Linked DNA regions of Homo sapiens: region 1 is linked to region 2. Evidence: promoter capture Hi-C in 16 types of primary human blood cells and fetal thymus (Javierre and others, 2016). All regions are on one chromosome and are shown on one strand. Each heading gives the region's core, a stretch centred on a gene start or on the middle of the fragment in contact. The rest is flanking DNA. Distances are from core to core; before and after follow the strand shown.

The links. Contacts are between HindIII fragments. The CHiCAGO score rates a contact against its expected background, and 5 or more counts as called.
Region 1: a contact is called between a fragment that was not itself captured here and the fragment with the promoter of HERC1 in region 2, in 1 of 17 cell types (megakaryocytes). The highest score is 5.2, in megakaryocytes.

Annotation. Positions count from the first base shown.
Region 1 is chr15:63,911,658-63,917,379 of GRCh38, forward strand. It overlaps DAPK2 (death associated protein kinase 2), which reads right to left. Exons shown (of 12, transcript NM_014326.5): 10 at 451-540; 11 at 251-334. Among named protein-coding and RNA genes, the nearest start is that of MIR422A, 44 kb to the left of the region's middle. The HindIII fragment of the contact is 4,113 bases long and covers 1,071-5,183 here.
Region 2 is chr15:63,831,862-63,837,188 of GRCh38, forward strand. HERC1 (HECT and RLD domain containing E3 ubiquitin protein ligase family member 1) reads right to left here and starts at 2,087. Exons shown (of 78, transcript NM_003922.4): 1 at 1,966-2,087. RefSeq lists enhancers at 1,243-2,108, 2,109-2,972, 2,146-2,275 and a silencer at 1,476-1,905. The HindIII fragment of the contact is 17,710 bases long and covers 1-5,327 here.

The sequences.
Region 1 (5,722 bases), core at 1,877-4,376, 81 kb after region 2:
GGATGGGAGATCCTCCAGGAGTTCATGCTGCTGCATCAGTGGTCCCCTCCCGGCACCACCCAGAGGTCCCCAGAACACACTCCTCTGAAGATCACACTTCAGCCTTCAGGGAAGAGGAGGACTGGGCCAGCAGAACTGGCTGGAAACAGTGAACACCCACCTGCCTTGTGAGGGGAAAGGGAACTCACCCATCCCTGAGCTCCAGGCTACCCCAGAATTCTGCCCAAGAAGAGGGCATGCATTTACCCACCAGGTCCTCATCCGGCCTCAGGTGCACCTTCTTCATCAGCGAGCGGGTGAGGTGGTTGCACAGGGACACGATGCTGAAGGAAAGCTGAGGGAGGCAGAGGAAAGGAATCCCCAGGTGAGAATGTGCATGGAGACCCTGGAGAGCCAGAAACCCCGCCCTAGCCCCCACCCTGTCCCCCGCCGCCCCAACCCTGGACACACCTTCCACCGCCTGCGGACATACTGCTTCCTGAAGTTCTCCAGATTGACCACAGACTCCCTGCGCACCATGGCTTGCTGGTTGTCCACCGGCTGAGAGACAAAGCAGAGCATGGCAGCTGATGCTGGGCTTCAGACAGCAGCCACCCTCCTCGCCGCAGAACTCCCCACCCACCGCATGCCCACCGCCCTTGGCTTGACCCTGGCATCTCCCCGCCAGGTGGGGCACACCGTGGGAGCATCACAGTCAGGGCAACAGCTACACATGTCTCAGCTGTTCAGGAGTTGCCTCTCAGCTATTATTACCACAGCCTGACACACACACAGCCTTGGCTGGAGGCTCAGCAGCTCCTGAAGGGGAATAGCAGGAGGCAGGCCCTCCAATCGCACATCACTTTGGGGAGAGGGTCATTTTACAGCAGTCTGGGATGCCCTCTGGGCACTGGGGTGATTCTGGGCTTGGCAAAACAAATGCCTTGTTGGTAGACGGGGAATTCATACTCCATTAAAAAATAAATGGAAGGAAATAAGGGCTTTGATGAAAGTCAAGAGGCAACAGGATGTGCAGTTGCTTTTCACAGCCTGGCAGTCAGAGCTCAGCTTAAATTTTGACTTCTCCAAGAAGCTTGGGATGGCTTCTCTGAGCCTCAGTTTCCCCATCTGTAATATGGGGATAATAATATCATGTCACAGGGTTGTTAAGGATTATATGATCATGCATATATAAAGTGCTTAGCCCAGCACCACTCAATAAATAGTAATAAGTTATTGTGAGCTTTCCTGCGTTCTCCATTCCCTTTTCAACACCCCCCTTTTGTAAAATAAGGTTTTGTGAAATCAAGAGATAGGTTTCAGGGGTTCTGTGAACAAAATGTGCCTATATATCCATACAAAGGAATATTAGTCAGAAATACTATTCATAAAAAATTGAGTCCAATACATTTTACAACACGGATGAACCTTAAAAACATTATGTTAAATGAAAAAAGCCAGACACAAAAGGCTACCTGCTGTATGATTCAATTTATATAAAATGTCCAGAACAGACATATCCGTAGAAACAAAGCAGATGGGTAGCTGCCAGGGGCTAGGGAAAGGGGAAAACAGGGAATGGCTACTAAAGGGTATGACATTTCTTCCTGGGGTAATGTAAATGTTCTGGAATTAGATAGTGATGTGGTTACACAACCTTGTGAGTATACTAAAAACCACTGAACTGTACATTTTAAAATGGTGAATTTTATGATATATAAATTATAACTCAATTTTTAAAATTTAGTATGTATGTACAGACATGCATTTCTTTGGAGGAGAGTCAATAGCTTTTATCGATTCTCAAAGGCCCCCATGACCTCAAGAAAATGAACTGCCTAGAATGATTCCAAAGGTCCCGGGCAGCTCTGGTTTTCTCTCTGCTCTGACAGCCTTCCTGCCGCAATGCCTCATTCACCTGGTGAATGCTAAGCGAGGGAGCCTATTGATTCCCAGGCGTGGGTCTTGTCTCCTAACCATGCTCGGAGCACACCTCCACGCTTGATTTTTCATCATGGCATCAGGGACCGGAAGAAAGCCAGTGCACACTGCTGGCCACGCTGCTCTGGAGCTGGCAGCCTCTGGCAGGAGGTCCATCCCATGGCAGCCCCTGCTGCCCATCCCCCTGGAAGGCCTTCAAGTATTTCAAAGCCCAATTCAGACATGATCTCCTCCAAGACAAATTCCAGAAAATCATGTCTCCCTCCCTGACATGAACAAGGCACATGTATGCTCCTTTATGAAGTCCAGCACCTCTCAGAACCAGCCTTGCAGAGGAATCACCCCACTCCTGGAAAATGACTGGAGGGCACAGACTTTCTTCCTGTCTATGTCAATGCCCTGCCCTACTCTCCTCCCAACCCGGGACCTACAACAGTGAGTGCTTAATAGTTGTATGGTTAAGTCATTTCCCTGAGCTGTTGGAGAGATAAGTTGGAATGAAATCCCAGGACCTGGGACCTACTCACTCCCACTGATGAGGGGCCCAGGTCACCTGGTCAGCCCAGTCACACCACCTTGAAAGGGTGTCAGGGCACAAAGGTTCCCCATGGCTCTGCCCAGGAGTCAGTAGGATGTACAGCTCCGGGGCGGGGGGTGGGGTGACCCAAAGCTGGAGGGGGAGTGCATGCAACCTGGAAGTGGATGGGAGATGAGAAAACCTGGGGCTATTCACCCTCCGAAACTGAAGCACAGTGCTTTTGGGCCAAAGAGTACAGAAGGAAAGAGAGGAGGGGAAGGAGAAAGACAAGGAATGGGAAGAGAAAAGGACAAGGCTGCCGGAGGAACCAGCAGGCCATGTCCAGCCCTCTAGATCCTGTCTTTAACTGTCTGTCACCCACTCTGTGCACCTGCAAGCCCAGCCCTGGGTCTAGTCCCCCCCTGGAAGGGAGGCACAAAAGTGGATGGAGGGTGACCAATCTGTGCTGAAGACCTTGCCTTTTCCCTTCTCCAAGCCTTCCAGTGGCTTCCCTGTGCCCTCTATACATCCCCACGAGCTCATGGAGACCCTCAAGGCCTGTACCCTCCACCCTGATTTTCTACCTCTCTGCTTCCTGTCCATTTGGCTCCCATCGCACAGGTCCACTTGCTGGTCTGTGAATCCAAAGTCTCCGGGTCTTTGCCCTTGCTCTCTCCTATACTCACTTTATCACCTTGTTCAAGTCTTTGCTCAAATGTTATCTCCTAAGGGAAGCCTTCCTTGACCACCCTATATAAAGTAGCAAGCCAACTTCCCCCATGATTCACTATGCCGGGGCACTAAATCTTCATTACACGTGGTGCTACCCAATATTCTATTCTGTATTTATTCACATTCAGTCCTCAGTATCCTTGAAGGGTTGGTTCTAGGACTGCCGCAGATACCAAAATCCATGGATGCTCAAGTCCCTTATTATAAAATGGTGTGGTATTTGCATATAACCTACACATACCCTCCCCTAATGCTTTAAATCATCTCTAGATTACTTATAATAGCAAATATGATATAAATGCTATGTAAATAGTTGTCACACTGTATTATTTGCATTTATTATTGTAATGTTATTTTTATTTTTACTTTTTGCGTATTTCTGATCTGTGGTTGACTGAATCTGAGGATGTGGAACTTGCAGGTAGGGAGGGCTGACTGCTTGTTTTTTGTTAGTCCTCTCTCCCTTGCACCTCCAAGCTCCTAGAATCTCGTTTCCAAGGTGCTTAGCACCCTCCCCAACCCATCAACCATTTCTAAGTCTAACTTCACTGATGTCTGCAATTCCCCTGGGCATGAATGACCTTTGAGCCTAACCCTCACAGGGGCACCTGCACCTCACAAGGAGAGTTTGCTCAGATGGGATTAGTAGACTCTGGGGGAGAAGAGATTTCTTTTTGCCCACTTACTGATTGGCACCCTCACCCAGGGGAGGAAGAGCTAAGCCCATGGCTGGAAGGTCAACTTGCAGGTGTGGGGAATCTCGTTAATGAGAATCCCACCCTCCTCCTGGCCCAGCAGTGCCAGCCACTGAGCAGAGGGGCCCAGCTAAAATGTCAGGTGAGATCATTCCCAGAGGCTATTAATGGGAGGTGATGCAATTCTTTTGAGGGCCCTGTTTATAGCTACACACAACACCACCAACCCTGAGGAGGCAGCATGGGGCTATCATTCTGTCAGGCTGGCCTTTCCTAATCAATGGGCCTTCCTGGTTGTTAAGAGCCCCACCAAACGCTGATGCTGACATCTCAGCCTGGAAAGATGTAAATTCTGCAGCAGAGGTGAAAATTCTGCAGCAAAATTGTTCCCAGAGGGAATGTGGCACAAACACTTTTGATTCGACTTGGGGTGTGAGGGGGAGATGGAACTGTGTCCTGCCTTCTCCTGACCCGCCCCTCCCTGCAAACAGAAAGTGCCCGCCTTCTGGCCTTGTGGTCCATCCGTGATACCAGGGAGCCCTGGGTGATTCTGACCAGGCTCCTAGGAGTGTGTTTGGTGTCTTGGAAAAATGTCCAAAAGGGAAGCAAGAAGACAGAAAACTGTGGGGTAGTCAAGTTTTGTTTATGCAGCTGCAAATGCCTTTGAAAAAGTCCAGTGGGGTGTGCCAGGTCAGTACCAACATCCACAGGCAGGGGCAGGAAGCAGCAGCCGCTGCTAAGGCATGAAAAAGGAATCCTGGCTTTACTGAAGAGGCGACTCCCCCAACTCCACCCCCCACACAACGATTTTCTCTAGATACTAGGTCTTCTTTAGGAACTGCAAGCAGATTGCACCTCCAACCCCCATCTGTGCCATCTCTCCAGCCCCTTACTCCAGTGAAAGCCAGGGCACTCTCACACCCACTTCTCTCCTGCCCAGGACCCCTCCCCGCTGCCCTTCCCTCAATGGAGTTTTATAGGTGGCACCCCTCCACCCCTCCCCTTCGCTGGATGTTTTGATGGCTGAAGCCTGGGCTCTGCTGCCTTCACCCACCTGTTTTCCCAGGAAAGGAGCACATGGGGCTTGTGGGAGGCTTGAGGCTCTGCCTCCTCCTAAGTGGGAGGGACAGCTGCAGAAAGGCTGTGAGCCTGAAGGCTGCCCCCTACAGTGAACAAGCCAGTGGAAGGAGGCAGAAACATTCCTTTCCTTGCTTGGCCTGGTCTCACATTTCTGAGTTAGGTCTTGACATGGATACGCTCTGTTTTTTATTCTTCTATGGGACCATCAGTTTTCTGAGCAATTTTTTGTCCCCAGGAAAAGCTTCAAAGGTTCTTCCTTTTGTACTGTTATAAAACCCAAGAGACTTGAGAGACGTAGCAACCAAATGCCACATGTGGACTGTTTGGATCCTGATTTGAACAAACCAGCTGTAATGGGACACTGTTGGGAGTGGTGGGGACATGTGAGGATGGAATGGGAATCCAGATGAGATGAAGGAATTATTGCTGATTTTGTCAAGTGTGATAATGGCATGGGGTTGTATTAAAAAGAAAGTCCTGGCTGGGTGCGGTGGCTCATGCCTGTAATCTCAGCACTTCGGGAGGCCGAGGCAGGCAGATCACCTGAGGTCAGGAGTTCAAGACTAGCCTGGCCAACATGATGAAACCCCATCTCTACTAAAAATACAAAAACTAGTTGGGTGTGGTGGTGGGTGCCTGTAATCTCAGCTACTCAGGAGGCTGAGGCAGGAGAATTGCTTGAACCTGGAAGATGGAGGTTGCAGTGAGCCAAGATCGCGCCATTGCACTCCAGCCTGGGCAACGAGAGTGAAACTCTGTCTCAAAAAAAAAAAAAGAA
Region 2 (5,327 bases), core at 837-3,336:
TTTCTCTTCCATGCAACATCAGGGTGCCTGCATTGGAAATGGAATACATGACCAGCAAATGAATGGATGTGTCACATGCAAACAGCATGACTGGAAATTTAAGAAGCAAAATGATAAGAACCTTAGGGAACGCAAAATTCATAAAAGTTTAGAATTACAAGAGGCCTTAATAGGCCATTTAATCCATTCCAATAACAACAACCCCAGATGACAATCTATCCTATTTTTAAAAGGCTCCAGATTTCCAACCTCCCTAGATATCTCATTCTGCCATACAACCTTGTCATGTGATTTGGGGGAAATATTATGACTGTTCTTTGCCCTTCCTAATGCTATCTTTTCTCAAATAATATAGCAATACATCTTAACTCACTTCCAAGATATATAAATGTGTATAGGTGCAGAATACGTGTGTGTGTGTGTGTGTCTCTATACATATATACGTACATTTATGCATAAGACAGGCACCTAGGACATTCAATTTTGCTTGTATAAACGCAGGCTATGGAAACACATATATCAAAGAGACATACTCATCCCACACTAATCACAACAGGCACTATGAAACAATGTCACAGAACAATTTTGGTCTAAAAATATCCAGTAGAAATCAATTTCATAAAACCTGAGGTAAATAGGTTTCTTCCCACTATGAATAATCATAGTTTCTTTCCCTTCTACAAATACTGCCCCATTTTGAGCAACCACCACTAACAGAATTGTAAAAATATAATATATACATAGGTACTAGACCCAAACAGACAATGTTTTAACGTTTGATTTTTCAAACCACTTAGCTAACAATCATTTTGGAAAAGGGCCCAGTGAAAAAGATAGTGATGGCAGAGTTCAGCCAGTGATAATGAACTAGCAGCCAGTTTTAATCAAGCAGGCCAGAGAACTGATTCAAATAAAATAAATCATTTTTGGAACAAATATAGAATGAGGAAGTCCCAAGCAAGGATAAAAAAAAATGTGTCTGTTAGGAAATACAATAAAATGTTAACCATGAAATGCCACCTCTGGAGATGGAATTACAAAGATGGGTTAGTTTGTTCAGATTTGTTATTCCCATCATTTAATTATCTCTATATTCTAAGTATTATAGACATTTCTTAAACTAAGACAAATCTGTCCCTGTGTTTCACAGCTCTCTAAGATAACATGTCTTTTACATAACCTCCTGGGAGAGGTGGTACAAGCTCCTGTCCTCCTCGTGTCTCCCAGTAACCTGCCACCCATCACAGAACAGATTTCACCATGTTCCCCGGGGTAGCTCCTGTCATCACCATCATCATCCTCATCTCACGCTTAAGACTAAACAATGCGCCCCGCCTCGCCTCCCGGTTGCAAAGGCTTTATAATTTGTTGTTTTATTGGGGCGGGAGATTTGGAGAAAGGTTTAGCAGATGATGAGCTGCCCTCACCCAAAGGCAGAGGAGAGGAGGAAGACACGTCGTCCCAGCCTCCACCCCGCTAAAGGCGGCCGGCGCCTGGGGACACCGGGGTCGCGGCACTCCCCGGACCCTGAGAGGGAGTCGGCCGCCGCCCGCGGACCGAGCCCCAGCCGGGGCAGAGGAGCTGGTCAGCAGATAAAGGAATGAAGCAGAAAGAGACGCGACCACAGCGGGGCCGGGGCACAGACGTTGTAAGCCGCTGGAGGGGCGGGTCTCTCGGCCCTCTCCGCGGGCGCCTCGGCTTCTACGCTGCTCCGAGGCGCCCGGGCGGCAGGAGGCCTCTAGAGCCGGGGACCCGGGGGATCCGCGGCGCGCCAGGAGGGCTCCCCCAGCTCGCCTGCCGCCCACCCGGGACCCCAGCAGCCCCGCTCGGCTGCAGTCCCGAAACGGCCCCGGCCGGCCCTGCGCGGCCGGCAAAGCACACACGCGCGCGCGCACACACACACACACACACACACACACACACACACACAGGACCAGGAGGACGGTAGATGATGCGTTACCGTACGTGGCTCTGGAGCTGGCGGGGTGGGGCGCGGCTCCGGCGACCCGAGCCCGGCTCCGCAGAGGCTGCGGCGGTCGCGTCCTTTATTTTTGCTGCAGCAGCAGCGACTTGTCAAAGGGAAAGACGTAAGAGGCGGCGGCAGCAGCGGCGGCGTCAGGCGAGTCTCACGAGATTTGGGCGGAACTCTCGCGCAGCCGGGAGCCCTCGCCCCGCCCAACAGGCCCAGCGCGGGAGGTGAAAGGGGAACCGAGAGGAAGGCGGCTGAGGTGGAGTTGGGGGTTGAGCGAAAAGGGGAAAGGGATTTGGGAGCGAGGGGAGCCAAGCTAGGTGCTGGGGACACTTTGCTACCGCGCGGCCCTCACCCTTCAGCCGTCGCGGAATCCGGGCAGCCCCGACCGCCTGCGGGGACCTGACTCCACAGATGAAGCACAATTGGGGGCGTTTCACAAAGGGTGGTGAGGAGTGGGGGGCCATGCAGTGCGCCCCCTTTTCCTCGTGGTGGGCAGGGAAGACCCCGCCGCCAGGCGAAGGGACACGTGTTACGGCCGGCGGCAGGGCCAGGGCCTCACCCCTTTATCTCCGCCTCGCACCCGGCGCCCCACGCTCTTTATCTCTCATCGCAGCGGCCCCGGCCCTCCGGCCGGCTAAGTTCAATCACATAAAAGCGTTTCACTTGACCTACTCTTCCACCTTGTTCATGTCTTTGCGCCTTATGGGACTGCCAGAACCCTGCAGATGCCAGGGCCTGGCTCCTCGGTTTTCTTTTCTGCTTGGGAACACAGTAGTGTCCTTTGGGTGACTTACATCCTTGATCATGACCTCGACCTCCACGTGAAACCCCATGAGGGGAAGGACACAGACTGGCTCAGTCCTCACCATATCTCCAGCGCCTAACATAGGTCCAAGTGGACATTAAATTGTTGAGTGAATACCCCATCTCCATCTTCCTCCTTCTGTACCTGGTTTTACTCCTTTCCAGCCACCTTCATGGTGTCTTTCCTTCCAGATATTCTAACGAGCATCAATTAAACTGACCGATGACTTGGGGACAAAAAATAGAGTTGGCCTCTGCGTTCCAGAAGTTTGCAATCCAATTGGAGGCGTAGGAGAAGCACACAAACATACAAGCCATGAATGTGTCACTAATGTAAGAAATTACGGTATAGACAGACGAGGGAGTGCTTTCCCATGGTTAAATTAGATACATGTTTGTGTGTCACATGAGGCAGTTTAGTCCAAGAGTTAGGAGCCATGTGCTTCACTGTCAGACACTGGTGGGAATTCTGGAATCCCACTTACCCCAGGTGTGTGACCTTGGGCAAGTTGCTTGACCTCTCTGAACCTCAGTTCCTTATGTGTCAATTTATAATGCCAGTTCTTGTTATCACAAGGTTCCTCTGAGGAGTAAAATATATGTAAAGCTCACATACGGCACATATTAAGTACTCATTAAATGATGGGTCTTAGGTGTGTAGCTTTTAAGTTTCTATGTATAAAATGTGTATTTCTGGTAAATGATGTAAGGGAGTAGCTACATGAGGAGTGATGTCATTGTTGCTAGTGCTTTATGATCTGGGTATTGTGTGTGAAGCATACTCAAAAACAACAAGCAAAAGCTCCTCCTTTTAACTTGTTGATGTCATCTACGTCACTCACAAATATGATATTCTGTCTTTCTTGAATTTGTAAAATTGTACTGGTTTTGCCCACTTTTTCTTTTTCTTTTTTTTGAGATGGAGTTTTGCTCTTGTTGCCCAGGCTAGAGTGCAATGGCACCATCTTGGCTCACTGCAACCTCCGCCTCCCAGGTTTAAGCGATTCTCCTGCCTCAGCCTCCCAAGTAGGTGGGATTACAGGTGTGTGCCACCATGCCTGGCTAATTTTTGTATTTTTAGTAGAGATGGGGTTCCACCATATTGGCCAGGCTGGTCTCGAACTCCTGACCTTGTGATCCGACCGCCTTGGCCTCCCAAAGTGCTGGGATTACAGGGGTGAGCCACCGTGCCCAGCCTGGTTTTGCCCATTCTATTTCAAGAAAAGGACTGCTTACTTTAAAGACCAATCAAGAGACTCCCTCTTTTACCATCTCCTTAGCTTCCACCCTCAGAGCTGTGTGTAAAAGAGAATTGAATACAACTGTGTTCAGTTGCATACAATTAGCAAATACTGTTAGTGTCAGCAAGTGAGCCCTGACTACTAGCCACCCTCACCTTGACCACACCACTCTTTCCCAAAACACTGTTTTTTTCTTTCTTTCTTTTTTCTTTTTGAGGTGGAGTCTCACTCTGCTGCTTAGGCTAGAGTGCAGTGGCGTGATCTTGGCTCACTTCAACCTCTGTCTCCCGGGTTCAAGCGATCCTCCTGCCTCAGTCTTCCTAGTAGCTGGGATTACAGGTGTGCTGCACCATGCCCGGCTAATTTTTTTATATTTTAGTAGAGACAGGGTTTCACCATGTTGCCCAGGCTGCTCTCGAACTCCTGACCTCAAATGATCTGCCTGCCTCGGCCTCCCAAAGTGCTGGGATTACAGGCGTGAGCCACCGCACCATGCTTAAAACACTGTTTCATACTCAAATCAGCATATCCTGGAACCTTGTTGTCAGCATTAACCTCCCAACTCTACCAGTTCATTTTATTCAGATTTCCCTAAAGAAAAATGTTGGAGATGGGAAGAGTGGATGGAGGGATCTCAGAGCCACAGCCAAGTCCTAAGCATCACAAGCCCTTGGTCTGATAGCCCTCTGAGCAGCATACCCTGGCCATACCAGTCAGCCACATCTTCCTCCCCTCACGTATGTCACCCCCACTTCATGCCTCATACTTCACAGCACCACACCACAGCTGGGAGGTCCCAGGCAAAGGAACTGGAGAATCAACAGTAGAATATATATTTTTCATCTTTCATCTGCATTTAGGAAATGTGCAACTCCTAGATAAAAATCAGGGCTAAGTTTGAAGTGAAGAAATCCAGCAGAGCAGTAAAGTGTGGAGGCAGAGCAGCAGGGGTAAACAGACACTGGGAGTAAGTTTGTGTTGCCCTTGGCACTTGGCTCAGGAAATATATCACTCTGAAAACAGAAAAGAGCTCCAGAGCAGGAATCCATGGACATGAGTTCTGGTAGCTCCAGAAATTGCAGCCTAGTTGCCCTGCCATTACACAGTCTTTCTGAGCCTAGTCTCACATCTGTAAATAGGGGTAATAATAAAACCCACTGCCTGCCGGAGAGTATCATGGGAGTCAAATAACATAAGAAAGTACTTTGTAACCATATTTGTAGCACTATTTAAATGTGAGGTATGATTATTCATTCATTCATTTAACAGGTCTTTGTGGAATGCCTATCATAAGTCAGGCACTGTGCAAG